2 separate regions of the Homo sapiens genome follow, and region 1 is linked to region 2. Evidence: promoter capture Hi-C in human tissues and cell types (Jung and others, 2019). All regions are on one chromosome and are shown on one strand. The core of a region is centred on a gene start or on the middle of the fragment in contact, and the rest is flanking DNA. Distances in the headings are between cores, read along the strand shown. Region 1 overlaps LOC105375179 (a long non-coding RNA gene). Region 2 holds the start of FERD3L (Fer3 like bHLH transcription factor).

The links. Contacts are between HindIII fragments. The study calls those that stand out against the background at their distance.
Region 1: a fragment that was not itself captured here is called in contact with the fragment with the promoter of FERD3L in region 2 in 2 of the 25 tissues and cell types used here (H1 embryonic stem cells and mesenchymal stem cells).

Annotation. Positions count from the first base shown.
Region 1 is chr7:19,403,252-19,408,212 of GRCh38, reverse strand. LOC105375179 (a long non-coding RNA gene) reads right to left here. Exons shown (of 6, transcript XR_007060244.1): 5 at 4,450-4,512; 6 at 2,310-2,881. Among named protein-coding and RNA genes, the nearest start is that of FERD3L, 260 kb to the right of the region's middle. The HindIII fragment of the contact is 4,859 bases long and covers 156-4,961 here.
Region 2 is chr7:19,141,363-19,146,833 of GRCh38, reverse strand. It overlaps FERD3L (Fer3 like bHLH transcription factor), which reads left to right and starts at 1,413. Exons shown (of 1, transcript NM_152898.2): 1 at 1,413-2,052. The coding sequence starts at 1,472. The coding sequence ends at 1,972. RefSeq lists enhancers at 367-1,015, 1,481-2,680. The HindIII fragment of the contact is 11,409 bases long and covers 1-5,471 here.

The DNA of each region.
Region 1 (4,961 bases), core at 1,336-3,835, 260 kb before region 2:
AAATGATGTGGTATTCTAGGAATCGCTGGCTGCTCTAGTGAAAATAGGAAAGGAAATCAGGAGCAGAAAGCAGGGAGACCCACGATGAGGCTATTACAATAATCCAGGTGAGAGATGATGGTGGATCAGACTAGGATGGCGGCTGTAGAAATGAAGAAATGTGATTGGGTTCCAGATGTATTTTAAGTAAACTGCTGACAAGATGTCTTGATGGATTTGATATGAGGTATGAAAGAAAGAGGAATCGGGAATGATCCCAATAGTTTTGGTCTAAGCAACTGTAAAAATAAAATTACCATTGGCAGAGCTGAGTAAGACATAAGGAGAAGACGATTTGGAGTGATGGAAAATGTTAATAATTTACTTGTAGGCACATTAAGTTTGAGAGATGCCCATTTTACATCCAAAGGAAGATGGTGTGGGAGTAGTAGGATTTAAGATTTCAGAGTTCAGGAGAGAAGTTTAGGATGGAGATACAAATCCTGAAGCTGTAGGCATACATGTGGTATTACATCCCTTAGCAATGATTTAATAAGGGATTTAGTGTAGATAGAGAAAGGAGGAGGACCCATGATTAGGCTTCAGAGATGAGAAGGAAATAGCAAAAGGGAGTGAAGAGAAAATGGCTACAGTAATTGAAGAGTGTGGGTCTTAGCCAGAGATACATATGTTATAAAACGAGTGTTTCACGACAATGACAAAATCAGTATTGAGAATAACCACCAGAAATGTTAATGGTGAGGTCAGTGGCGGCCTTAGTAAGAGCAGTTTCAGGGGAAGTGGAAGAATTAAAGCTCCGTTAGGGTAAACTAGAGAGAAAATGGATGGAAAGCTGTAGACTAAGTATAGAAAGCTCTTTCAAGTACATTTCCTATCAAAGTAAGGAGAGAAAGAGATGCTCAAAGAGGGATGTGTCAGGAAATTTTAGTTTTTTTTAAGACAAAAAAAAAAAAACATGTTAGTATGCTGATAGAAAAAATCTAGTAGAAAAGCTAAACTTGATGATACAGGAGCAAAACAGAAATGCTGTCACGATGTTCCGGAGTAAGTCAGAGAGGTTGGGATATAGTGCACAAGTGATAGATTTGGCCTTTGTCAAGAGCACAATTTATCTAGTGAAATAGGAAAACCAGAGTAGAGGCCAAGATGCAGGTGGAGAAGGACGTAGTGGTGGAACAAATGGAAATTCTCTTCTGATAGATTTTATTTCCTTAGTAGAAAGGAAGGGGTCATCAGTTAAGATTGAGAATGGGAGATGAGGTGTTGGGGGTTTGGATGGAGAAGAAAAAGCATGGAGAGTCATCTAGAAGGGTAGGGATGGAAATGGGTTAGGGAAATAATTGCTATACTTCATTAACAGTCCAGCTGAGTTTGCTAATCATAAAATTAAAGTGTGACTATTTTTGTCTTTATTTTCCAGCCTCCTTCAGCTGCTTGGGTACATCCACAGAATTTACAGAGTTGGATTCAAGCCAAACTTTACACGTTCAAATGGTTAAAAATATTGACTTCACTTTTATTTTTCAGTTGTATCATCATGAAAAAGTGATACATATGAAATGTTCTTGATCATCAACAGTGCTAAATTACTCCAGTTCTAATCCCTAATTTCTTAAGCTGTACATAGATTTGCCTACGTAGATTGATTTAAATTGTTTCACAATATAGTATGTCTTTAAACCATGGGTCAGCAAATTTTTTTATAAAGGGCTCAATAGTCCACATATTAGGCGTTGTGGGCTATACGGTCTCTGTCAGGTATTCAATAGCTATTAATAAAATATTCAGATAAACTTAAAATTTGTGAAAACATCTACAAGGGTGCCTGGCATTAACAATGATAATTAGAACATTTTCCTTCAGTGGAATGCATAGTTGGAATCCTTGATGTCCAAGGGGTAATATACAAATCAACAGGATCAGCTTTACCTGGGAACTCATTAGAAATGCAGAATCACAGGCTTCACATCCTGTCTTATTAAAGAGTCTGCATTTTAAAAAGAGCCCTATGTGGTTGTATGCACATTAAAGTTTGAGAGCTTTAGTTCAGAAAGCAAGACTAGGATTTTCCATATGTGGAATCAAATAACCTGTAACAAATATCACAAAGTTAACAAAAACTGGAATAATATGAAGCAAAATGAGAGAAATAAGAAAAGAAGAAAAGAGGAAGGAATTCATTTCCTGATCAGATGTCCATCAAACAATAAATGGATAAATAAAATGTGGTATATCCATAAAATAGAAAATTATTCACCCATAGATGAATCTTGAAAATATTATGCCTAGTGAAAGAAGCCAGTCACAAATGGCCACACATTTTATTTCCAATTATATGAAATGTCCAGAATAGGCATATCCATAAAGACAGAAAATAGATTAGGAGTTGCCAGGAGCTAGAAAGAGGGAAGAATGGGAAGTGATGGCTAACGGGTATGGGGTTTCTTTTCTGGGTGACGAACATGTTCTGGAATGAGATAATGATAATGGTTGCACAACTCTGTGAATAAAAGCTAAAAACCACTGACATGTACACTTTAAAACAGTGAATATCATGGTATGCAAATTATATCCCAATTTTTAACATCCAAAGAATTGAAAAATGGAGACAATAATTTAAAAAGTGATGAAAGGTTTCCTTCCATGGCAATTTTGTGGCAATTGTGTTTAAAGAGTTCTAGAATTTCAGGAAGGAGAGATGAGCAGAGACTGCCGTTCCTATAAAACTGATTGAAACAAATATCTATAATCAGAAAGAGTTTTTCTTTAGACTTTAGGTGAGTTTGATAAGGATGAAAAACTGCAGAGAAATTGGTTTTCTAGTGTACCTAAAGTAACCTACCTTGGGCCAAGTTGGCAGGAAGGTTGCTGGCAACTACTCCTGAAAGAAAGAGAGGGAGGGAGACAGAATTTGCAAGTTTGGTATGTTACACTGAATGTAACTTGAGTATCTTCCTGTATTAACTAACACCACAGATCTCTGCCACCAACCCCACAACACCACACCCTGTAGCCACAAACAGCCTTCAGGTTTTTCCTCCCCGCCTTCATAACGGTCTTAAGCCCAACCACATAATCTGAATTGGAAGATTTAAGTTGTTTGTATATGCTCCAAAAGGAATCCCAACTGTTTGAGTGTTTCACATACTTCGGAGTCAGTAATCACACAGCCTGGGTGATGACTGAATGAGTCACACTGAGGAAAACACAGACTGAAGTTGAATCAGGACTACAATTTGCAGATGTGCCCTCACACCCACTCAAAATGGGAATCTCCACTTATTTAAAGCCTCTAACTGTAACTTAGTACCCATTCTCTTATACTGAAAATGTACAAAACCCACAGGTTTTCTGAGTTGAAAATTAGTTTTCAAATAAAGCTGAAAGTTAAGTAGCAAATTCTTTACATTTTGAAAAATATATATAAAGAGAGCAGTGAGTGCATTAGTTACTAATATTTAGCAAGCTGTGATTTTTAAGGTTTTTAAGGATAATTTTCATTTTAAAGTCAATAACACCAAGCTTATCTATTAAGGAGCAAATCTTATTTCTTCTTTTCCTGCACCCACAGTAAAATGATAGTGGTAGGACAGCGTATGATCACTTTCACAAGCAAAACCTAACTTCCTAAAAATTTCCATTTTGGGCTGGGCACGGTGGCTCACGCCTGTAATCCTAGCACTTTGGGAGGCCGAGGCGGGCGGATCAGGAGGTCAGGAGATCGAGAGCATCCTGGCTAACACGGTGAAACCCCGTCTCTACTAAAAAAAAAAAAGAAAAAATTAGCTGGGCTTGGCGGTGGACGCCTGTAATCCCAGCTACTCGGGAGGCTGACGCAGGTGAATGGCATGAACCCAGGAGGCAGAGCTTGCAGTGAGCCGAGATGGTGCCACTGCACTCCAGCCTGGGCAACAGAGCGAGACTCCATCTCAAAAAAAAAAATAAAAAATAAAAAAATTCCATTTTGGATTAACTCAATAATATAGTTAACTCATTTTGTAAGAATGAACGTAGGATGAGCAACGGTGACTTAGAAATAAAACAGATTATAGGCCAGGCGTGGTGGCTCATGCCTGTAATCCCAGCATTTTAGGAGGCTGACGCAGGCAGGATTGAGACCAGGGTTCAAGACCAGTCTGGGAAACATGAGGAAACCCTGTCTCTACAAAAAATATAAAAATTAGCTGGGCCTGGTGGCAAGCACATGTGGTCCTAGCTACTTGGGAGGCTAAAGTGGGAGGACTGCTTGAGCCCGGGAAGTCAAAGCTGCAGTGAGCCAAGATTGTGCTACTGCACTGCACTCTAGCCTAGATGACACAGCAAGCCCCTATCTCAAAAAATAAATAAATAAAAGATTATAATCTCTTAGGGAAATTCTGTTAAAGTCTCTTTTAGTCATAGGATGTTTACCATAGTTCAATAGCTTTAGAAGAAAAAGTTGCACTATACCTCTGTATATTCTTCTCGAGGGCTGGTTCTTATGTCAGTGAAGCAGTAAGTAAATGTTATCATCTCCAATGAAGAGAAGAGAAAGAGTAGATATTAAAGCTTAGAATATAAATCTAATGTGGAATGCCAAATAGATTTCATCATTTGAACCAAGAACTTAATGGTGGCTGCCTTGAACAAGGACTTGTGGAAGATTCTCAAGCTATGTCTAGTTCCCTAATCAATTAGATAAGTCTGCTACGAGCTTTAGAAGTGAAACGTGGGTAGAATTTCTATATGATATTTATTGCTCAGGTTATAATTTCAGTCCTGAATATATAATCCCTCTCAACCTCAGGTCACCATACTAAGTCAGGGTGAAAGCTCAGCCCTCAGTTAAAATGATTTTATGAAAAAAGAGCATTTTCAAGAAAACTAGAAATCATCAAAATGAGAATCTCTTGAGGAAAACTTAACAATCAAATGCCAGTTTGAAAAAAAATGCACACATCTGAAAAGTGGGTGAGCATCCA
Region 2 (5,471 bases), core at 164-2,663:
TACATTCATCTTTTTAGGCTATTTCTTCCAATCTACCTTTAAAATTATCTTCTAATCTGTCACTTTGACACAATGGGTCTTTTAAATAAATCTTTACACAGTACTGAATAATTAAGTAAATATAGTTATTGGCAAACAAAGAAAAAGAACCTTTTTGTTAAAATATTTGGGATACTCGAGATAATATAAAATGAGTAATCTCTTATTTTTCTTATGCCAAATTTAAAATCTCTTTCTTTTCTCAAAAATAACGATCTAACGATAGCCAAAAACTCCCTTAAATATATTTCAATAAATCATTGTTTCTGCACTTAAGTCTTACTGTAGGACAATACAAATCAATGAGGAAAATACGCCAGATGGAAGTGTTAGGTTTTTTTCTTTGTTCGGGAACAAATACTCGATCCGCAATTTAAAAGTCCGAAGACTCCTCAGCAGAGGGTGAGCTGATTGACTCTTTGGCTTATCAAGGGCAAATCGCATTTCTGAAAAGAGCTTGAAGTGGTTTTGTTTGTGAGGAGAGTTTGCTTTGTCCCCCACACTGAAAAGTATACAGCAAAGCCCGAGCATAGAAAATATCCTGAGCTTAAATTTCTCATTTTATTGCCATCATAACTTTTCCTCTTGGAATAAAATCCTCTATTTTATATGAGTAGGAGGTAAAGGTAGGGAAAGGAAAGTCAAGTATCTCAATTGTTACGCTGATTGCATCCAAACAGACTTTAGAAGTCAGGGTTTGTAACGTGGCAGGAGAGCTGTTTGCGATGCCCTGGAAAGAAAAGAAAGCCGGTTCCAACAGCGACTCTGGGGAATGCACTCTCGGTCCCCCTGCCATGCTTACTTAAGCTAATTGAAGGTCTTGCCTTTCAGCAGCCGCTGCACTGGGATACCAGACAAACAGCTCCCCTTGATGCCAGGCAGGCAGGGCCCCTCTTCAGGACATCATTAAAAGCACATGCACTTGCTCCACATCCATTGGCAGATGGTGGCAAGATTCAAGACTCCTACCCTGAAGTCAAGGAGAAGCCATCGCGGTGGAAAACATCCTCGCTTTGAAAATCCAACACGAAATTAAAGAACTACACGAGATAAGGAGCCTGGAGAACATTAGTTGGCTGCAGGGGTGAAGACAGACACAAAAAGCACAGCAGGTAAGAGCTGGGGGTTGTTGCCAACAAGGAACTGTCCCGGGTGGCGCAGAGAAAAGGATCTCAGAACTGGAGCCCTGTCCCTTTGAGTCTTCCATGCGTGCTCAAGCTTGTCATCTTCCATAAGCTTCGAGAGAAGGGACGTTGTCAGAGCATTCCTTATCGGTGCGACTAATCCTGTTATCAGCTTGGTTATAAATATTTAATGTTCCCTGGCCTTTCGGTGATGGTGCCCCATCAGATTCAAGGCTGTTAAGAATCCCCACCAGCAACCTCGCCCCTCCCTGCGGAAAACCGATGAGAGGCAGGGCCAAGCCGAAGCGATGGCGGCCTATCCGGAGAGCTGCGTGGACACTACGGTGCTGGACTTCGTCGCAGACCTGTCCCTGGCCTCCCCGAGACGCCCTCTCCTCTGCGACTTCGCACCCGGGGTCTCCTTGGGGGACCCAGCCCTTGCGCTCCGAGAGGGAAGACCCAGGAGGATGGCGCGGTTTGAAGAGGGGGACCCAGAAGAAGAGGAGTGCGAAGTGGACCAGGGGGACGGAGAAGAGGAGGAGGAAGAGGAGCGCGGAAGAGGTGTCTCCCTATTAGGCCGCCCCAAGAGGAAAAGGGTGATCACCTACGCCCAGCGCCAGGCCGCCAACATCCGCGAAAGGAAGCGGATGTTCAACCTCAACGAGGCCTTTGACCAGCTGCGGAGGAAGGTGCCCACGTTTGCTTACGAGAAAAGGCTGTCCCGGATCGAGACCCTCCGCCTGGCCATCGTCTATATCTCCTTCATGACCGAGCTCTTGGAGAGCTGTGAGAAGAAGGAAAGCGGCTGAGCCTGGTGTGGAGAGTCTGCCCTTCCTCGTCTGGTAGTGCTGGGGTGTGTCAGGACCGGGCACTGGGTGAGGCTAAAGGGCCGGGAGGGAGGCCCCAAGACAGAACGTCTGGTCTTCTGGAGGTCGGGGTCGAGATTGTAAGATCCCCACATGCGCTGAGCAGAGTGGCTGCTGTAGAGTTCATATCTACGCGACCGCCCTAAGTGAAGTCGGGGTCAGGGGCGAGCGGGGAAGTCAGAGAGCGTGAGGCTGAGTCGGGGCCGTTCAGGCTGCTCCTAAGAGCTTCCGTGGGCTGGGTGGGTGGGAAGTGAACCCTCCTCGCAAATGGCAGACTTTGGAGCTTCTATAAAATCTAACCTCTCTTCTTTACATTTTTTTTTTCATAGAGATAATAAAGTAGAAATTCTTACGTTTTTAAAAAGCCTGAAGGGTCGGTGGTACGCCATCCCCAGCAGGCGCTCCAGCGGGCGCCTGCGTGGAGGGTCTGAAGCAGACGCCGCAAGGGTGCGGGGGTGCGAGCTTTTCTGCTAGCCAGAGGGTTCTGCCTGGTCCTCCGAGGCTTGTCCAGGAACTGAGGAAAGGAAAAATGGAAGGCAGAGCAGTCGAGAGGAACTGCTGACAAAGTGCGACCTCTGAGAAGGGACACCCTTCCTGTCTTCCATTCCCTCTCCCTCCCGTCCCTTCCTCTCTCCCGCGCGCAAGCCCTCTCTCTTCCTTTCTCCCTCCCCTTCGCCACCTAGTTGATCCCAGACGGACCACAGCTCCTTGTCCCAGGGCCACAGTGGTGTTCATTCAGTGCCTTAGCCAGAGTGCAAATCTACGCTTTGCATCTAAAGTGCAGCATCAGCTTCCGTGTTCCAGTGCCTTCTTCAGGCCCCAGGCCAGAGTAAGGGGCGAGTGCACTCGGGTCACTCCTGGGCCGCAGGGGGCCTTGGGCGCCCTGCAGCTTCGCCACCAGCCACCGCTACCAACTGTCCCCGGCCAGGGGTTGGGGTATGAAGGGGCCTGGATCTTTCTAGGAGCAGGGCCGCCTGAGCGCGCTCACTTTTACATTTTTAGCTGTAGGTAGGAAAGATAGCTTTCACTCTAATGGCTTCTAGAGACTACCAGGGGAGACAAAAAGTCCAAAGAGGAGATGCCTTCTGACGCCTTGCAAAACGCCTGCCATGCAGATGAGGTTGAAGCGGGTCCATGCTGAGAGGCCGCCTCTAGTTTGGACCCGTGCCATTCCAGGATTCTTCCTTCTAGGTGACGTGCTAGTACCAGAACTGGGGTCTTTCAGAAAGGAGTGGGTAACTGAGGCGAGGAACCCGATTGAATAATGCCAACCTAAACATAAATTCAGTAATCCTAAAGGATAATCCCCAGTGATTATTCCAACACTTTATTTCGCCCCTCATTGCACACAGAAATAGGCGGGAGCCTGTGCGAACACACAATTCTCTTAATCATGCTTTCGGAAATAGAATTCATTTCATTAATAAGTAACATATACTCATCCTAGAAATTTTGGAAAAAAAAATTTCAAAAAAGAGAAAATTCGAATCACTCCACGTTACCATACTGTTAGCATTTTCATCTATTTCTTTCCAGTCTTTTTTTCCCTGTGCAGTTATAAATTCAATATATTTTACTAATTCGAGATACTTTGGGATACTGATATTTTTCCACTTGGCATTATAGAAGGTGCAATGTTTTCCCTTAACTTTAATATTATTCAAATGTGATTTTGATTACCATATCTTATTGTCTTATCCATGTATCACACCACCACCAGCCCTTTCCAGATAGATAGCTATTTCCTTTTTAAAAAATAAATGATGCTGCTAAGAGCATTCTTGTAAATGCCTTCTCTGTCTATTATTACTTCCTAACATTTGATACCTAGAAGTGAAATTTCTGGATTCAAGTTTGTGGATATAAATGGCCAGATTCCCTTCTTGGTGGGTTCTGCCAGTTCACTCTCCCACCCTCTAGCATTGCAGGGATTTGCCTGTTTCCCAGCCCCTTCATTAGTACTTCGAATATTTAAAACTTTTCTTAGTTTTCCTTTTCATAGGACCTGGATTAGTTCTGAAACGAGCCCCCACTCCCAAGATGTTTTTTTACTTTTACTGTGTCTTTCCACCAAGAATTTTTTCAACTGCACCGTAAGAACATCAGGATAAACAGGTAAACAAAAAAAAAATACATAAACAGCTAACACCAAACAACAACAAAGCCCCATAGAGTGTTGTTTTTTCTTATTCTTCCACCAATTCAATTTCTCCTGGAAATTAAACATCATTCTTTTTTAAAAAATCATCTGAAAGTGTTGAATAAATAAAAAGAAAAAAAAGTAATTCCAATCTAGGAATTCTTAATATTTTGCTGAAAGAACAAGTTTTGAAAACCAGAAATAAAGCAAAATTGTGTAGACCAGGGACCATCAACATTCCTAAGTCGTGAGGAGTCAGCACAGCCACCCGTTTTCGTTAGTCTTCTCCATCATATTCTAATACATTTTGTTCCTAGAAAGCAAATAATATTCCTCCAGTGAATACCTCTTCATCATAGTAAATGATACCTAAAAAACTTCTAAATTAAAAGTTATTTTCTTATTATCAACAGAGGAATTATCCACCCTTCTTAAAAAAAAAAACTTTAATCGTTTATAAATGCTTTGCTATTTGTAAGTTTACATGTTTAGGAACTGCCTCAAATGTAGTCTTTTAAGATATTTTCATAATAATTTTACTCAGAGTAATTTGAACCCAGGTAAGGATCAGAGTCACATAGAAAGGGATTGACATTCCTTTCATCAAATGCCAATAGAGGTAAGACAAAATGATCCACGTCCTGAACTTAAATCGAGTATACCTCCATATTTTGACCCTCAACTTTTCTAAGCATTATTTTAATTTTAGTTTTCCTCATGTTAGATGCATAAAATCAGTGCACCTTTAACACAAGTTTTTTGTTTGTTTGTTTGTTTGAGATGGAGTCTCGCTCTGTCGCCAGGCTGGAGTGCAGTGGTGCGATCTCAGCTCACTGCAACCTCCAACTCCCTGGTTCAAGCGATTCTCCTGCCTCAGACTCCCAAGTAGCTGGGATTACAGGCACGCGCAACCACACCCAGCTAATTTTTAATACAAGGGTTTTTGAATGTAACACCCACTACATTAAAATAGTTTTACTGTTTATTATCTCCTAAACTACCATTGATAGAAATATGAGTAGATATTGCCTTTTCAGTAACTTCAGCCAGGCTTTTTTTAAGACCTAATGGTGTCAGTTACTTCTGGAAAATTAAAATAATTTGTTTTTGAAATCTTAAAGTCATTTGAACATTTAGAATCTAAATACCATCTGAGATGTTGCTTGGAGGTGATTTATTTATATACTCTCTACTGATGGAACACTGCCTTTTGGTCTCAAACTAAGTTCCCCATAGCTATCAGATTACTATTAGTATTCAGACAAGTAAGCCATAAAAAGATCTAAATGAAATCATATTTGA